Regions from separate parts of the Homo sapiens genome. Here region 2 is linked to region 1. The links are contacts of gene promoters, found by promoter capture Hi-C in blood cells and fetal thymus (Javierre and others, 2016). All regions are on one chromosome and are shown on one strand. The core of a region is centred on a gene start or on the middle of the fragment in contact, and the rest is flanking DNA. Distances in the headings are between cores, read along the strand shown.

Region 1 (4,207 bases), core at 1,289-3,788:
AACCTAACATAATAATTCACTTTATTTTCTAATATCTTTAATTTTAAAGGCCATTTACCAAATGTTAATTGCATTTACTATTAAATAGGGGAAAAATCAAGTTAATATTCTGTTGTCTCCCTCCTTTTTTGTCACAAAAAGAAACTTCAAAACAAAAGAGGCACCATTACTCAGCAATGACCCTTCTGAGAATATAAACCAGCATAGTACAATTCACAAGTGGCAAACTCAGTTGCAAGAATTTGTATATTCCTTATACTCCATTACTTTTGTTTTTTACAACATTATAGAGCCGTTTGCTCTTTATTGTCATATATTTTAAAGTCTCTTGCAGTGCCTGTTTTACACACACAGGACACCATGTAGTATCAATACAGTAGAATCCAAAATGTATGTGTTTCCTAATTGTGATGTTTTTTAAGTTTGAAAACAGTGTGCTTTCTGACCTGTGGGTTAAAAACAAAATAGTAATTTCCCTTTGTCCAAATTCACACCCAGAATAGAACACTCCTGTTACATAATCAAAAAGCCACAAAATAACAGAAACTACTACAAGCCATTTGTAATTACCACCCACTCTTCTTTATATATTATAGAAACCTCTCCACTGATTTTAAACTTCCATGTGTCAGTGTTGGGAAAAAGACTTTACTGGAGCCACATTCTGTGGTTAGTCTACCTAAGCTGGTGCTGGGAGCTTGCAACATGCGTGATGCACTGGTTACGCAGCTTAACCCTGAACAGAGCTTTTGAATATATTAGTGAACCCAATAAATTCAATAGTAAGTAAAAGTCCATCTTTCATTGTCATTGAGGGATGTGTGTGTGTGTATGTACACACACACATATATACTTACATATATACATACATACATATCGTTTTATACTGACTGCTCCACCAAAATCAATTTTAATCTGACATACATTTGATTGATTACTCACATGCATTTACACTGAGGCCCTTTTCCAGAGCCTGTGCGAGGGTTCTTTCCTAAATAACCTTACCCCAAAGTCATGCTCCCAAAAGAGGAAATCTCGAACAGAAGAAACAAGCCCCAAGTGGAAGGAAGATGGAAAGAGAAAGGGGAGGAAAGAGGTTTACAAATTCCTTGCCAAATGGATGGAGAGAAATTCTGTGAGGTGATTAGCGGGTCAGGAAGCGTTTTCCCTGGATGTGGTGGTAACCACAAGGACCAGTGATAATGCTTGGGGGATTGATTGCTTTCCGGTTGTGCTTTCTGCAGCGCAAAAACTCTGGGCTCTTGCATTGCTCTTTACTGTGATGCAGGGTCCACTTAAAACTCTGCCTCCCTACCGGGAAAGTTCACACATCTTGGGATTTCGGGATCATTTAAGTCTAGAGGGATTCTTTTTTTACACTTGAGAGTAAGCTGTGCATTTTCTTCATTGTATGGGAAAAGCTAACCCTTCATTGGAAAGCAATGCACAACCATCCGGTGGGTCTGCATTTATCCAGAGTTCTCCCTTCCTCCCTCCATCAACGGTTTAGTGAAGCTTGCAGAGAAAATGAGGGAAAGCATCCATCAGAACGCAAAGACGCAGAGCGGAACTTTTCCTCTGCCGTCAGTGGGGAGAAAAAGTCACTTGTGCGTCTCGTGGCTGACAGCTGAGTCTGGGAACCTCCGGATAAGGAAGGAAGGTTTGGCGTTGAAGGAGGTGGGAGAAAACAATGCTGAGCCCGGATGCCTCCGGACACCGCACATCCTGCCCGGGTCCCTGACCCACCCATCACCCACAGCCACGCTCCCGGTGCGGCGCGGCTTTGCTTACCTTGATGATGCTGCTGCGCCGGGGGGTCGCCCGTGCTGCCTCCAGGAGGCCCGCCTCGCTGTCCGCTGGGGTCCCCGCGGCGCCTGGCAGTGCGACCCCGCTGCGACGGTCCCTCATCCGGCCCCCAGAGGCCGCCGTCACGCAGTCCCCGGCGGCATCCGGGCCCACTCGGGGGTCGTCTTCGCCCCCCGCCGCGTCGGGCGGCGCCGGATCCTCCCTGCCGGCCGCGCCCTCGGCCATGGCCTGGAGCGTTTAGGGCTCCCCGGGGGAAAGCGGGACGCCCGGCAGCGGAGTCCAGCCGCTAGGCACCGGTGCGCTCCTGCACCGGGAGGCGGCCCCGCCAGACTTTGTTTCACCGCCCAGCGGCGGCAGTGGCGGCGGCGGCGGCGGCGGCGGCAACTTTCTGGAGAGGGGACATCGCTCGGGCAGAGACGTCCTCGGGCTTCGGTCTAGGAGGCTAGCAGTCCGGCGGGGGACGGTGGCGGGAGTGGGGAGGCGATGTGAGCGGGAGGCAGAAGGAGAGGCGAAAAAGAGAGGGAGGTATCCGAAATGTGATGCAAACGCCGGCCCTGCGCCAGACAAAAGGCACCGGGCGCCCAGCCAGGCGGCCTCTGGAGCCCGGACGCCGGCGGCCCGATAGGGGCCAGAGCCGGGCGACTGCGGCCGGGCGCACCCGCCACCTGCCCGCGGACTGCGGCGCAGCGGTCCCAGGAAGTGCGGCGGCGGCGGCGGCCTCCACTCAGCTCTGTTGTGACAGGGAGGGAGACTTGTTTTGACAGCCCTTGGGGATTGGCAGGCGTCTGGGCCTCTTAGGAGCCTCGCCTCGCCGAGGGGGCTCGGCCCGACCAATCCTCACTGCGGAGGGGTGTGCCCGAGCGCGAAGAATGGAATGTGTTCTGCAACTGGGAGCCGGCCCAGCGGGGCTAATGTACTCGAGCCAGGGTGTACCCGCGCGCGCGCGTGTGCAAACCCGGAGGCGCTCCGTGTATATTTTAGGAAGTTTAGATTTGCGAAATGAGCCTGAGATGCAACAAAAATCCAGGTTGGGTGAAGGAGAGGGGAGAAAGAAACCTTCTTCTGCCAAACAAAGCAATTTGGAGGAAAGTGGGTATTGAGTATGAATGTCTAAGCGTTTGGGGTGACGGGGTGAAGCTTTGCGTGGTCACAGGTTAATTGCAGGCTCTCAGGCCAATTCTTAGAAGTCAAGTCCATGCAGAGATAAACTAGGGTTTACTGGGATCTTGGGGTTCCATAATTTGCTTCAGGTTCCAGGAAAGGATTCTAAGGTCATTCTGCAGTGTGAGTAAATATAACAAGGAAAGGGAGTCAGTGAAAGAGATGAGGGTGAAAGGAAACTGAACCAACTAAATCCCTCCGAAGACTGACTCTTAAAAAGCACAGATATAATCCAAGTCAGATAAATGCAGGTGGGGAGTTTAGTCTCTATCCTAAAACATTCCTATTTGACAATGGTTCAGCCTCCTTTCTCTATATAATCCTATATAAAAACATATTTTGCTCATTTCCAGTAAGCTAGCAACCAAGAAGGGAGAGATCTTTGGATGATGAGTTAAGTCACTGAAATTATCCACAGAATGCTCAGATGCAAACCATGGTCCTAAGGCTCCCTGGTAAGACAAAAGACTTGGCATTTTAATTTTAAACTCCTTTGATATTAGAATCTATATTAAACCTCACTTATAACATTACATTTTATCTTATTAATAATTTAATAATTTGAGATTTTACTTGTTCCTTAGTCTGGCTAACAGCATGAGAAATTATTCAGCATTTTAGACCAACAATTTGGTTTGAATCTCATAATTTTAGAGATATATGGGGATTTAGGGATCAACTAGGACATCATTTTTGTTTTACGGTTGAGACAAAGGCCCAGGGAGTCTTGTCTACTAGTTAGTGCAGGAGCCAAAATTAGAATCAGCCACCCAACTCCTCCGATAATCTCTTCACTACTTTATCTGTCTCCTCTGGGCTACAACCAGCCAGAACTGGCAGGGGCACTTGGGAGGTTTCAGATTTGACATTTATCAACTACTAGGGAATACTGAGAAGGCTTGACTTTGCCTTTTCTTTAAACATAAATGCAGCCTAGTAATGAATGTACTGTAGAGAGTAGCAGTGACCTCTGGTTTTAGAACCAACACCACCCTCTAGTGAGATTCTGAGAACTGCATCCATAACAGCAAAGGCTTCTTTTTCCCCCTCATCTTTAAAAGACAGGAGGGGTAACCCAACAAAAGTTTCCTTTTCAACAGGTATGCCTTTACAACGCACAGACTAGAGGAAGAAAATAAAGTGTACCCAGACTTAAAACAACCATACATGTCTTCCATCTCCTTTAGTTCAGGGAATTCCTGTCTATGCTATATAGGAAATATTTTTAATTGCTATCCTC
Region 2 (4,382 bases), core at 1,857-4,356, 520 kb before region 1:
GGGCTTTGGTATAGGCAGGATTCAAGGCCCCTTCAAAGGACTAAGAAACAGGAAGCAGAAGCACAGCACCCAGCTAGCTTATGGCTGGAATTGCTGGCCAGGATGCCACCACCATTACAGGCCGCCATGGCTGCCACTGCTGCTGTTATGAGAACTTCTAGTCATGCTTCAGGCCTTGTCACTTCCTCAAATTTGATGTACCCAAAGAGGGGGTCTAATTGGCCAAAATCGACACTCAATTGCCCCATGACAGTACTAGGGAAGTATACTAGGAGAGATGCAATTTCCTAAAAGGCGGGGAAGGTGCTTGAAATAACAGAGATTCTGGACGACCAAAAATTGACAAATGTTAGAATCAATGTAGATAAGACAAAATCTAAAATAAAAAATGTATTGTAAGAAAAGAGTGGGCAGAGGAAGGTGTTTTGAGATACATTAAAGTTAATGATTTTCCAAACTAGAATTTTAATTAGTACATACAAATTTGAATTCACTGCTGTTGTTTAAGGATACACCTAAATTATTTCACTCCATGCTTGAGCCATTCAAATTTGTAAAACTGTCTACTAAATAAAGCCAGTTGAGAATGTAATAAAATTTATTCACTCATTTAATAAAAATCCATTCAAAGTCACTTTTGAGACAGATAGCTATTGGATACACAATGATACAGAAATACAGACTTCTTTGGCCTTTCAGGTTCAAGAGTTTAAAAGCAAATTTAATCATAACATAACTCATGTCCCTTATTCCTTTTCATAGTAATAATGCTTTACATTTAAATGACATATTTTAACTAAGAATACTTCACTGCCCTTACTCCTCACAATACTTTTATGCTCTAAACTGAGAGTATTATTCTTTTCACTTCAGAAAAGTAAGTCACTTGTTTAAAGTTACACTGGCTATTTAGAGTAAGAACTATCAGAAGATCACTTATGCTTACCTTTACATTATTTACAAAGTCCAAATATCATTCCAAAACTCCTACTGCTTTAATAGAGAGTTACAGATGAGAATAATGAATAACCTATGTTCCAGGATTCTCTCATACAAATTTTATTGTATCTGAAAATATTGGATGACAAAGTGCAAAGTGACAGTGAGTCAAGACTTGAAGTGTTTATAGAACTAATTTTTTCAGTGGTAACAGAAAAGCTTGAGAGGAAGGAAAGACTAAACCACACCTATAAATGGCAGATGAATCAGGCTGTGACTGCAGAGTTTTTTTTCTTTTTTTATTATCTTCATGCAGGATATGGGCTACCACAACAAAAATAATTTGTGGTAATCAACTTCTACCATTCATATAGTTGATGAGAACAAAACGATTATGTTACAGTCATTTATTTCACCCAGGACAGCCTGCCTTGAGTGAGAAAAAAACACTTTTGGAGTCAAAGTTCACTTTTCACAGCCAGGGACTACTGGATTATTATAAAGATTAAATGAGATAATGTATATGAAAATACCTTGTAAACTATAAGAGAATCTTAGGTGTGCCATAAACCAGTGATCGGTGTGATAAGCTATCAGAAGGTCACCAACTTTTTAATAAATAACAAAGTATTTCAATGACTAAAGACTCAAAATAGCTAGTTATGAAAACCTTTCAGTTTTTCCATGGTAAAAAGAATACCCTCCGCTTTTGTGATGCTGCTGCTGACACAGTATTTTTTGCATAAAATATTTTAGAGATATCAGCAAGAAGAGGGTTAGTGCCATCAGTCTGTTGAAGAAAGTGACCTCAGTCCTGTAGTACTTTCTCATTCCTGACTTCACCTTTCTCTGACCTGTCATACACCTTTGGCACCCAGTTGTCTTACATACTTATTTCAAAATCTTAATAGGACAACAAATCACAACCTGATCTTTAATTGTTCTTCCCAATGAAGTGTGGAAACTGAAAACATCAAGAATTTTTGCCTCTCCAAAGAAAATGTGTACATACATAATTGGAATCATTGCAGCTGATAAGTCACAGTGTGATAAAGAGATGGGATAATAATGGCAGAATTTTAGGCATCAGACAAATTAGGAAGAAAAGGATTATACGGGCATCAGAACCCTTCTGCTAAGCCTGAAACCATACTTCCTAGGTCATCATTTAGTTGAAATAAATTGAGTCTGAACAAAAATAAACTCCAGGACAATCTAACATTATCAAAATCCAAGTCACAATAAGCATATGATTTGCAATAAGCCAGCGTGGTACACTATTGTTCTCAGAGAGGTAAGATTTCTTGCCCTCAGAGATGACTCACCCAACAGCCAGACTGATGTTAGTTTCACCCACCTGAGTTTATATCTCTGCCATGGAGGACTGGAAATACAGTGGACATTTGACTCATGGTTTTCTTTTATTTTTCTCATACTCCCTTAGTTGATGCATCATTGACTCTAAAGATCAAAGGCGAAAGAAAGATATGTACCAAAACCTTAAAAGCTGCCCCAAGTTTCTTTCAGAATCTTTCTGGCATGCTTGAGATCTGCAGACAAAATAACATACTCATTTCTACCACTGGGTTATTAGGAAAATGTTCAGTAGGAGACACAACAAAAATTTCATCTATTCAGCAAATATATATCAACCACGATGTGTCAGACATTGTTCTAGGCACTTGATTTAAAAGGGAAATGTGAATCAGAAAACAAAATTTATTAATTTCAGTGGGAAAAGTGACAAGTACTTTTTAATTGGATCTTTAGGTAAAAATTGGGTAAAACTGAGATAAACCCAAAAAGATTATTAGGTATCCTGTCTAGTACACCCTTCTGGGCCATCCCTACCTTTTGTTGTCTTTGAGTTATTTTCTATCTCTGTGACTTATAGAAAATTAATAATAATGCAAATCATTCTTGTTCATAGAAATACAAATAAGGTATGACCTGTAGAATGCAATTCATTATTGCCTCATATATTGATCCATTTTGCTTCTATTTGTAAATTCATTTCAGCATTGTTTATCTGCCTGTATGTGTGTAGATGTGAATTTGAATCCTTTTTTGAGTAGGTAACATCTTACTGCTTTCCTCATTAATTAATGTAATAAAATCTTTAACACATGTTCATCTTATGTTTGTATAAGAATCATAATTATACTTTTTAAAAAATTATCCTTAAAGAGTTTACAGTAACTATTCATTACGGGACAACCTACTTCAAAAAATATGTTTAGAAAGAAATAGTAAATTGTTTAAAGCTCTTCAAATGCAAAGTATTAAATGCAGGGAAATAGTATCTTCTTACTATTATGTGGTATTTTAAGGCATATTTGATAAGGCCTCAGAGTGCCCTCACATTTCTGATCCCAGATAGAGGAATAGAGCTGAGCTATGGTAGAAAAAAAAAGAATATAAGATCTCTTGTTATTTTTTGCTTTAAAGAAATAATAAACTGCATTGTTGTAACTCAGTGTAAGTAGATTCGAGTAAGGCAATAGATATGGGTGCCAGAAGCTACTCATATCGTTCTTTAAAATGGAAATTTACCGTCTGCTGCATCACATGGACAAAATACAGAACTATTTTTCACAGCTTGTTCACTGAACAGATTATTGTAGAAAAAAAAAAAACTTTTACATTTTCTGCAGATTCCCAAATCTCAGTCAAAAAACTCTTGGCAATTTTTAGCAGTGAAACAGATTTCACTTTCAGATTGAGATACTCCATTTAGCAGTAGTCAGATGATCTTCCAAATAAATATAGACTCGTTTCACTCTTGATTTTATTTAAAAAAAATGTTTTCATGAGGTGTCTTGGAGGAAACTTGCACTTATTTGGTTTTCCCAAGCTAAAGCAAAGAAAAACTCGAAGGTCTAAAAATCAGAGTTAAATAAAAAAAGGAATGTTAAACTGAAAATGTTATTACAAATAATGCATGTTCATCACAGTACCAATAAATAAATAACCCTATAAAACTTTAGAATTAGTTGCAAAGATGCTACAGTCTTTTCTTCCCTAAATCTCAGCTCCCCAAAATATTACTAAACAGAAGTGCATGTGTTCGGTACAATATAACAGGCAGCAATATGTTGAGATACTTCACACAAAGAGGTCTCTGGGCCACTTTTCTCTTTCAAGATTAGCTCTATCACTTAGGTGTGAGGCAACTGCACTTATAAGTTTATTTATATAACCAGTTTTTCCTTAACTACCAGTTATTAATGCCACGGAAAATAATGGCTTATTTCAAATTAAATATAACATGACCAAAATCAGAATAATGATTTAATATAATCCTATTTCTGAGATCCCACTTCTATAGATCTACGCCTCCTCCCTAAATTTCTGTACTAAATTTTGCAAATGTTTCTTCTGTTCATGAAAGGAGGCTATATTGTAATTATGAGTAAAGTCCAGAGGTATTATCTTACTTTTAT

Evidence for each region. Contacts are between HindIII fragments. The CHiCAGO score rates a contact against its expected background, and 5 or more counts as called.
Region 2: a contact is called between a fragment that was not itself captured here and the fragment with the promoter of PLCL1 in region 1, in 8 of 17 cell types (naive CD4 T cells, total CD4 T cells, megakaryocytes and 5 more). The highest score is 8.0, in naive CD4 T cells.

What each region holds. Positions count from the first base shown.
Region 1 is chr2:197,802,924-197,807,130 of GRCh38, reverse strand. It overlaps PLCL1 (phospholipase C like 1 (inactive)), which reads right to left and starts at 2,538. Exons shown (of 6, transcript NM_006226.4): 1 at 1,792-2,538. The coding sequence starts at 2,031. It overlaps LOC105373828 (a long non-coding RNA gene), which reads left to right and starts at 2,585. Exons shown (of 4, transcript XR_001739850.3): 1 at 2,585-3,422. RefSeq lists a silencer at 2,362-2,491. The HindIII fragment of the contact is 1,428 bases long and covers 1,518-2,945 here.
Region 2 is chr2:198,323,461-198,327,842 of GRCh38, reverse strand. The region is part of intron 2 of LINC01923 (long intergenic non-protein coding RNA 1923); the gene reads left to right. Among named protein-coding and RNA genes, the nearest start is that of LINC01923, 49 kb to the left of the region's middle. The HindIII fragment of the contact is 3,892 bases long and covers 1,161-4,382 here.